Linked DNA regions of Homo sapiens: region 1 is linked to region 2. The links are contacts of gene promoters, found by promoter capture Hi-C in blood cells and fetal thymus (Javierre and others, 2016). All regions are on one chromosome and are shown on one strand. The core of a region is centred on a gene start or on the middle of the fragment in contact, and the rest is flanking DNA. Distances in the headings are between cores, read along the strand shown. Region 1 overlaps ZNF480 (zinc finger protein 480). Region 2 holds the start of VN1R4 (vomeronasal 1 receptor 4).

Region 1 (5,016 bases), core at 1,906-4,405, 950 kb after region 2:
ATTTTTGTTTTTGTTGCAATTGCTTTGGGGTGTTCATCATTAAGTCTTTTCCAGCACTTATGTCCAGAATGGCATTTCCTGGGTTTTCTTCTAGGAATTTAATACTTTTAGGTTTTATATTTAAGTCTTTAATCCATCTTGAGTTGATTTTTGTATATCGTGAAGGATAGGGGTCCAGTTTCAATATCCTGCATATGGCTAGCCAGTTATGCCAGCACCACTTATTGAATGAAGTTCTTACTTCATTGCTTGTCAGTTTTGTTGAGGATCACATGGTTGTAGGTATATGCCTTTATTTCTGGGTTCTCTTACCTATTCCATTGATCTATGTGTCTTTTTTTATACCAGTACCATGCTGTTTTAGTTGCTGTAGCCTTGTAGTATGGTTTAAAGTTGGGTAGTGTGATACCTCAAACATTGCTCTTTTTGCTTAGGATTGCTTTTGCTATTTAGGTTGGGCTTTTCTGGTTCCAAATAAATTTCAGAATGTTTTCTTCTGATTCTGTGAAAAATGCCATTGGTAGTTTGATAGAAATAGCATTGGCTCTGTAAATTGCTTTGGGCAGTATTTTAACAATACTGATTCTTCCTATCCATGAGCATGAGATATTTTTCAATTTTTATTGTTTCTGATTTCTTTGTGCACTGCTTTGTAATTCTCATTGTAGAAATCTTTCACTTACCTGGTTGGCTGTATTCCTAGGTATTTTATACTTTTTGTGGCTACTGTGAATGGGATTCCATTCTTGATTTGGTTCATAGCTTGGACATTACTGGTGTATAGAAATGCAACTAATTTTTGTACACAGATTTTGTATCCTGAAACTTTTTTGAAGTTGTTTATCAGATCTAGGAGCCTTTGGGCAGAGACAACAGGTTTTCTAAATACAGAATTATATCTTCTGCAAGAGAAACTGACTTCCCCTCTTCCTATTTATATATGCCTTTCATATCTTTATCTTGCCTGATCACTAAGCTTAGGACTTCCAGTACTATGTTGAATCGGAGTGGTGAGAGTGGTCATCCCTGTCATTTTCCAGTTCTCAAGGGGAATGCTTCCAGCTTTTGCTTGTTCAGTATTAATTTGGCTGTGAGTCCAGCATAGATGGTTCTTATTGAAGTATGTTCCCTCAATGTGTAATTTGTTGAGGGTTTTTAAAATGAAGGGATGTTGAATTTTATTAAAAACCTTTCTGCATCTAAAGAGATGATCATGGTCATGTGGTTTTTGTTTTTAGTTCTGTGTATGTGATAAATCACATTTATTGATTTGTGTATACTGAACCAACCTTGCAGCCCAACACTAAAGCCTGCTTGATAATGTTGGATTAGCTTTTTGATGTGCAGATGGATTTGGTTTACTAGTATTTTGCTGAGGATTTTGGCACCTATATTCGTCAGGAGTACCAGCCTGAAGTTTTCTTTTTTCATTGTGCCTGTCAGGTTTTGGTATTAGAATGATGCTGGCCTCATAGAATCAGATAGGGAGGAGTCCCTCTGCATCCATGTTTTTGAACAGTTTCAGTAAGATTGGTAACAGCTTTTCTTTATACATCTCGTAGGCTTCAACTATAAATCTGTCTGGTCCAGAGTTTTGTTTGATAGATTTTTAATTAGTGATTAAATTTTGGAACTCATTATTGGTCTGTTCAGGGATGCAATTTCTTCTTGGTTCAATCTTGGGGGGTTATATCTTTCAAGGAATTTATTAATTTTTTCTAGGTTTTCTAGTTTGTGTGCATACAGGTGTTTATAGTAATCTTTGAGGGTTTTTCGTATTTCTGTGGGGTTGGTGGTAATGTCCCCTTTGTCATTTCTGATTGTGTTTTTTAGATCTCCTTTTGCAAGGTGTGAAATTTTTTTGAAGACTTTTCCACACATTTATTATAATTGTGAAGTCTCTCCAGTATAAATTCTCTAATGAGTTATTAGAAAAACTTGTGTTTGAAGACCTTGTCATATTCTTTACATTTGCAAAATTTCTTTGCAGTATGGAATAAAAGATGGGTAGTAAGGCTTGAGTGCACACTAAATTCTTTGACGCATTTGTTGCATTTGTAGTTTCTATCCCATATGAATTGTCCAATGTTGTGCTAGGTATGAAATGCGACTAAAGGCCTTGCCACACTCATTACATTTGTAAGGTTTCTCTCCAGTATGAATTTTCCGATGTCGTGCAAGGTGTGCAATTCGATTGAAGACCTTGCCACATTCATTACATTTGTAAGGTCTTTCTCCAGTATGGATTCTCTGATGATTGGTTAGTGATAACTTGTGTCTGAATGCCTTGCCACATTCACTACATTTGTAAGGCTTCTCTCCAGTGTGGATTACAAGATGGGCTGAAAGGCCTGAATACTCACTAAATGCTTTACCACATTCATTACATTTGTAAGGCTTCTCTCCAGTATGAATTCTTCGATGTCGTGCAAGATTTGAAAGTTGATTAAATACTTTTCCACATTCATTACATTTGTAAGGTTTCTCTCCTGTATGAATTCTCCAATGTTGTGCTAGGTGCGAATTTTGAATAAAGACCTTTCCACATTCATTACATTTGTAAGGTTTCTCTCCAGTATGAATTTTCTGATGTCGTACAAGGAGCGCAATCCTATAGAAGGCCTTGCCACATTCATCACATTTGTAAGGCTTCTCTCCAGTATAAATTCTCCAATGATTTGCTAGAGATGACTTATGACTGAAGCCTTTACCACATTCATTACATTTGTAAGGTTTCTCTTCAGCATGAATTCTTTGATGTCGTGCAAGGTAAGAATTATTACTGAAGACTTTACCACATTCATTACATTCATACGGCTTCTCTCTGGTATGAATTCTTTGATGTCGTGCAAAGTTTGAATTGTAACTAAAAACCTTGCCACAGACATTACATTTGTAAGGTTTCTCTCCAGTATGAATTCTACAATGTTCTGCAAGGTGTGAATTGCGACTAAAGACCTTGCCGCATGAATTACATTTGTAAGGTTTCTCTACAGTATGGATTACTTGATGTTTAGTAAGGCTGGAAGATACTCTAAAGACTTTGCTATGCTCATTACATTCATAAGGTTTTTCTCTAAGGTGTACTTTCTGTTCTTGTGGGAGAAATGAAGAATCATCAAAATCATTCCTATTAAAAATGGGGGTTTTGACACTGGAAGACATTTCTTGAAGACAGGAAACAGAGGAACTGTGGTTGATAAAGTTTTCAACTTGATTACATCCATTTATTACCCTTTCATCTGGAAATAGCTCCAGTTCAGACAGATGTAAGTGAAAGGATACTCCAAGTTGTTTTTTAATTGGTTTGTCTTCTGCATTGCTTCCCAATGCATAGCTGCTCCCTAGGAAAGCAAGAAAAAAGTAAAATTCAGACCCCATAATTCTGGCATGTTTAGAGTCTGATGAAAATACTAGAATCTGCCTCATCTGACTCAGACATTGGAAGAAATATCAGCACACTTTGTACATCACGCTGGTTGTGCTGAAAATAGAAAAGGGTAAGGTGATGCACTGGAGTTCTGGGAAATCTGTAGGAGTCAGGAGGATTACAGGTGAGTTTGAGAGGGATTATGAGTAGAGAGATAGAACAGGAATTGAAACCTTCTGAGAAAAAGAAGGGACAAGTCTCTAGGGAAAATAAGACACTCAAGAGAAGCAGTATACATAATAACAGTACATGCACAAAGCTAGGAAAGGCACATCCCCAGAAAAGGAGTGAGTGTTCCCACACCCTTTACAACAGGCTAATTAGAAAAGATCTCCCTCTGACCAAGTCTTATACAAAACAACTGAGAGAAGCAGTTATTTTACCAAACCTAATCCAAAAATTACAAGGCCTATGAAAGGAAAGAGAAATATGGCTAAAAAATAAATAAAGCCAAACCTAGAAAAAGACAGGCAGCTCTCTAAATTACTAGACAAATATTTATTTATTTATTTATTTAAGACAGGGTCTCACTCTATCGTCCAGGCTGGAGTGCAGTGGTATAGTGTAGCTCACTGCAGCATCTACTTCCCCAGCTCAAGCGATCTCTCCTGCTTCAGCCTCCTGAGTAGCTGGGTCTACAGGCATGCACCACCACATTCAGCAAGTTTTGGGGTTTTTTGTTATTTCTTTTGTTTGTTTTTAAGATGGAGTTTTGCTCTTGTTGCCCAGGCTGGAGTACAATGATGCAATCTCAGCTCACTGCAACCTCCACCTCCAGGTTCAAGCAATTATCCTGCCTCAGCCTCCCGAGTAACTGGGACTACAGGTGCCGGCCAACATGCTCAGCTAATTTTTGTATTTTTAGTGGAGATGGGGTTTTACCATGTTGGCCAGGCTGGTCTGGAACTCCTGACCATGATCCGGCCACCTCAGCCTCCGAAAGTGCTGGGATTACAGGCGTGAGCCACCACATCCAGCCTCAGCAAGTTTTTTCTGTGTTCTTTTAGAGACAAGGGCTCGTGATATTGCCTAGACTGGTCTCGAACTCCTTGGCTCAAGTGATCCTCCTGCCTTGGCCTCCCAAAGTGTTGGGATTACAGGCATGAGGCACTGCACCTGGCCCTTGACAAATATTTAAAGCAACTGCCTTAAGATTCTTAATGAGCTAAAAGATATCAAGGAGAGATAGACAACTAAATGAAATCAGAAAAACAATACATGAGAAGGAGGATATTAAACAAAGGAGGAAACAAAAAACATTCTGGAGCTGAAACACAATAAATAAAGTAAAAATTCATTAGGTGCTCAACAGCAGATGGATAGAGCACCAAAAAGAATGAGCAAACTTAAAGGTCAGTTATTCAAAAGTATCAGCTCCACCAGGCACAGTGGCTCACGCTTGTAATCCCAGCACTTTGGGAGGCCAAGGCAGGAGGATCACTAGGTCAGGAGTTTGAGACCAGCCTGACCAACATGGTGAAAGCCTGTCTCTACTAAAAATACAAAAATTAGATGGACATGGGGGCATGCACCTGTAATCCCAGCTACTCAGGAGGCTGTGGCAGGAGAATCGCTTGAACCTGGGA
Region 2 (5,021 bases), core at 248-2,747:
GTGAAACCTGACTATGTTCTTAAGGACTAACATTCTTAAATCAATCTGTCGTAATAATGAAAGCTGGTTGCATTCTTAAGGACTGTGGTACTAAAATCAATCTGCTGTTCCGCCTACCCAACAGGAATTATACACTAAAATTTCAGGATTGCTGAGGAAATGACTATAATATCACCATACTTGTAATGAATAGATTGACTCTACAGGAGTCATGTAATTCCTTACACAAACAGTGTATCTAATTAGTAGTTGCTGGAACGAAAATGTTTTCTCTAATTCTGAGAGTGTGCAGGGCTTAATGGGAGCATTAATTGTGTCTCTACTGAAAACTGCCATAGTCTGTTGATTATGGTGAGACTGTCTTTCCTCTTGATGTTAAGGAGGCAGCATTTAAGGAAAAGGTAACTTTATAATAATGAGCTAAAGAGAGCAGCTATCAGACTCAAATGTGTCCTCTGATGTGTTCTCTGCTTCAGATAGATTCTAACATCACCCAAACTCTCTAATTTCCGTTTACAAAGTATATATAATATACACCCACTAGAGTTTCCAATTTTCACGTTTGTCACATTTTAATTTAGTTATGCAAATATTGTCCTAAGGATAATAATTTATTTAACTCAGTTATTAATAGATCTAGATATGTCATCTAACATTTGTAAGAATTTGGTTATTACCTTACACTATTTTATCCCATATTGTTGTTTCATGTCCTATTGTTTTGGGTAAGACATGATTGTGGTAGGTGCCTTTATGCCTTTGTCCGTGGCACAAAAGCAAATGCTCACAATGTTTTTTACTCTCTTTCCATTCTAATATTGATCCATGCTTGCAGTCATTAAATCCAACTTGTCATGGTGCAGGTTTCTATAGTATCAAACTGTAATCCCTGCATCTACATTTTTTAAGATCTCTAAACCTTTATTTATTTGGATATTGACAAATAGAATACATTTTTACACATAATGTAAAATCATTACAACATACAGTAACCTACTACAAGACTGAAATATAATGACAAGGAATAAAAACAAAGGGGTGTGTGTGTGTATGTGTGTGTGTGTGTGTGTGTGTGTGTGTGTGTGTGTGTGTGTCTTATTCAAAGAACACAGCTATCTAGCTTTGTTAGTCAACTATAACGGCTAAATGCACTGTCTTTGCAATAAAACCAGGCAGGTTCAAGTTCGCATTTTGCCTGTAAGTAGGGTGGAAATGTTGCCAGCCACTTCACCTCTCTGTGTGTATGTCCTTCTCATATTTACAATGAAAGTAATAGTAATGCCTGCCTCATAGGTTTGTGAATAAAGAAGTTGCCGCACGTATGATCTGCACAGCAGTGATTCCCACATGGGAAGTGCTCTTTAAAGGTTACGCATTCAACTCTCAAAAGCCTCTTAAGAGAAGAGTGACTTTAAGTATTTCTAAGGGCAGAGCAATGGGAGGTGGAGAATGCTGGGTTGCAGGTGACACTATAAACGTAGCTCATGCCTCCTATTTCCATGCAGGACCTCCCAGCCCTGAAGACAAACATCAGTGACAGACATCAGTGGCAGAATGGCCTCCCGGTATGTGGCAGTGGGAATGATCTTATCACAGACCGTGGTGGGAGTCCTGGGGAGCTTCTCTGTTCTTCTCCATTATCTCTCCTTTTACTGCACTGGGTGCAGGTTAAGGTCCACAGATTTGATTGTTAAGCACCTGATTGTAGCCAACTTCTTAGCTCTCCGCTGTAAAGGAGTCCCCCAGACAATGGCAGCTTTTGGGGTTAGATATTTTCTCAATGCTCTTGGGTGCAAACTTGTTTTCTATCTCCATAGAGTGGGCAGGGGAGTGTCCATTGGCACCACCTGCCTCTTGAGTGTCTTCCAGGTGATCACGGTCAGCTCCAGGAAATCCAGGTGGGCAAAACTTAAAGAGAAAGCCCCCAAGCATGTTGGCTTTTCTGTTCTCCTGTGCTGGATCGTGTGCATGTTGGTAAACATCATCTTTCCCATGTATGTGACTGGCAAATGGAACTACACAAACATCACAGTGAACGAGGATTTGGGATACTGTTCTGGGGGAGGCAACAACAAAATCGCACAGACACTGCGTGCAATGTTGTTATCATTCCCTGATGTGTTGTGTCTGGGGCTCATGCTCTGGGTCAGCAGCTCCATGGTTTGCATACTGCACAGGCACAAGCAGCGGGTCCAGCACATTGATAGGAGCAATCTCTCCCCCAGAGCCTCCCCAGAGAACAGAGCTACGCAGAGCATCCTCATCCTGGTGAGCACCTTTGTGTCTTCTTACACTCTCTCCTGCCTTTTCCAAGTTTGTATGGCTCTTTTGGATAATCCCAATAGTTTACTGGTGAACACTTCAGCCTTAATGAGTGTATGTTTCCCAACTCTCAGCCCCTTTGTTCTCATGAGCTGTGACCCCAGTGTATACAGGTTTTGTTTTGCCTGGAAAAGATGACAAGATCTCCTAACCTCATCATAAACATGTACATTGTATATATTTGCTCATGGTTCAATTGATGACTTACTCTTCTGTGCCGCAATGTAATCTTAATTATGAACCTCTCCCAATTATGAGAAGGTGATGAACAAGACAGGGTGAACTTCCACCCCAATGATAAACAATAACTAGTAAGAACAATTGTAAATGAAATATGATGCAATTATTATGTAAATATTCATATTATCAAAGTTTTATTAAGGCCTGCAGTAGAGTCATTAAAGGTCTACGCAATTAAAAAAATTAGGTCCTGAATCAATCTGGCAATGATGGGGATCTCTTTGAGTGTGCAACCTTCGATCTGATATAATAAATCTATGCAGAAATTAAGTAAGCGTGAGATTGTTGAAAAAGTTACATGACAAGTAGCAGTGTGTGATATGACCATTCAGGAAAGTGAAGAAAAAAATGTTCTCCTGAAGTAATGAGGTTGCTTGGAGGCGAGGTTTTGGTTAATTCCAGATTTGGGTCCCAAGTTATAAAATCTGTACGTTACATCCTCAGACAGATAATAGTAATTTAAAATATAACTATATGGAGGGAAATCAGTATATTTAAATCATTTTCATGTAGAAATGGTTACACTGATCAAGAATGAGACAAAAAAATATATTTATGCCAAAATTAAAAACATCCTGTGAATGCTGACTATTAAAAAGCAGATGCTGACTGGGCGTGCTGGCTCATGCCTGTAGTCCCAGCATTCTGGGAGGCCAAGGCGGGAGGATGGCTTGAGCCCAGCAGTTCGAGACCATCCTGGGCAACGTGTCGGAACCTCATCTCTACTAAAAATATGAAAAAAATTACCTAGGCATGGTAGCACATGCCTGTAGACCCAGGTACTTGGGAGGCTGAGATGGAAGAATCACTTGAAGCCCAGGAAGTAGAGCTTGCAGTGAGCCGAGATCGCGCCACTGCACTCCAGCCTGGGCTAAGGGAGTGAGACCCGGCCTCAAAGCAAACAAACAAACAACAACAATAACAACAACAGAAAACCACACACACTCTGTGAGACTGCATAGATTTGAGGATCTAGACGAGTAGATGGTAGACTCTTTTTCTTTATCATGTGAAGATGCCAGTTGGCCATGTTGGAAAGAAAGAGATTTGGGGGTTGCGTTTTCCTACCTCTAAGGTGAGCAAGTGAGCACAGACATTCATTTCCTTCAAATTTACTTGAAATAGCAGAGAAATGGCTATATTGAGGGAGAAAGTATGAATCCACTGTGTTCGTGTGGAGATTATGACAGGTAGACTTCCAAAGGAGCAAAATGCTTATGCCCCAATTATAAGAAACAATCTAACATACTGAGTCTTTATTTTCATTATGAAGCTGATGCAAAGTATTAAAGATTCAATAGTTCATCGAACAAAAGAATTCGTTTGACTTAACGTATTGAACTTCATGAACGAAAATAAGGAAACATTTTTAACTTGTATGAGGCACTTAGGATTATGTACTGCACATTAGATCACAAAGCAAGATGGAACATACCTGTGTGTATGTTTATAGTAAGTGGCATTATGTTTGCTATCTACCAAGGAATATTAGAAATGTTTACATTAAGAAATGTAGAAAAATATTAATTATAATAGTGACAAGTTAAACCAACTATGAAGTCTATTTCATGTGTTATTTACATAGCCATGCTAGTTGTTTAATTGGTTAAAATTACATAGAATGTATTTTTCGTTATTGTATATTTTTCGTAATGTTTTATGTATCTGTCTAAAATATTCAATTAATTATAGTCAAACAATGTTACTATAACAAAAATTATTTGTCTGTTTCAGTTTAATGTAATAATGGATATATTCAGGATTATGTTTACCAATTTATTCTGTGTTCTTTACACTTTCCCTATTTTCTTATTCTTTCTATTTTAACTTCTGTGTTTTTAAAACATTTTTAAAGCAATTCTACATTTTGCACTTTTGTTTAGAAGGTTTTGTACTCACTATCTTCGTTTTACATTTTGAAATTACTTCTATAAAATAATCATAAAGTTATGTAAGACCTTTAACTTTCACCTTGGCAATATTGGCACATTAAAACCCTAACCTATTTACCATCTCCCAGTTCTCTAAATTGTAACCTATGTACCATCTCCCAGCTGTGTAAATGTGCACAGCTCTATGAAATTTTAAAACCTGAACGCATCTCCTATGCATCTTCTAGATGAAAAAACAGGCTATTCCTGGAACCCAAGGTGTCCCCATGCACTCCTTCCTGTCATGACTCCCAAGGATTCAGCACTATTCAGACATCTCATAGCATCGATCACTTTGATGTGTTTTGCACTTCCTGTAAGTGGAATCATACAAAATAACCTATTCTGTATCTGGCATCTTGTATTGTATATGTTGTTTGTGAATATGTCTGTATTTTTGCAGGTGGTTGTGGATCATTCACTAGCATTGCTGCATAGAATTCCATTGTGTAAATATCTATTAACTTAATCATTCCATTCTCGATGTACATGTGAGTAGTTTTCAGTTTGGGGCTATTATGAATAATG

What was found. Contacts are between HindIII fragments. The CHiCAGO score rates a contact against its expected background, and 5 or more counts as called.
Region 1: a fragment that was not itself captured here is called in contact with the fragment with the promoter of VN1R4 in region 2 in 1 of 17 cell types (M1 macrophages); the score reaches 5.1 in M1 macrophages.

The regions. Positions count from the first base shown.
Region 1 is chr19:52,319,907-52,324,922 of GRCh38, reverse strand. ZNF480 (zinc finger protein 480) reads right to left here. Exons shown (of 5, transcript NM_144684.4): 5 at 1-3,344. The coding sequence ends at 2,065. Among named protein-coding and RNA genes, the nearest start is that of ZNF610, 14 kb to the left of the region's middle. The HindIII fragment of the contact is 4,353 bases long and covers 979-5,016 here.
Region 2 is chr19:53,264,199-53,269,219 of GRCh38, reverse strand. It overlaps VN1R4 (vomeronasal 1 receptor 4), which reads left to right and starts at 1,497. Exons shown (of 1, transcript NM_173857.3): 1 at 1,497-2,544. The coding sequence starts at 1,555. The coding sequence ends at 2,460. The HindIII fragment of the contact is 11,315 bases long and covers 1-5,021 here.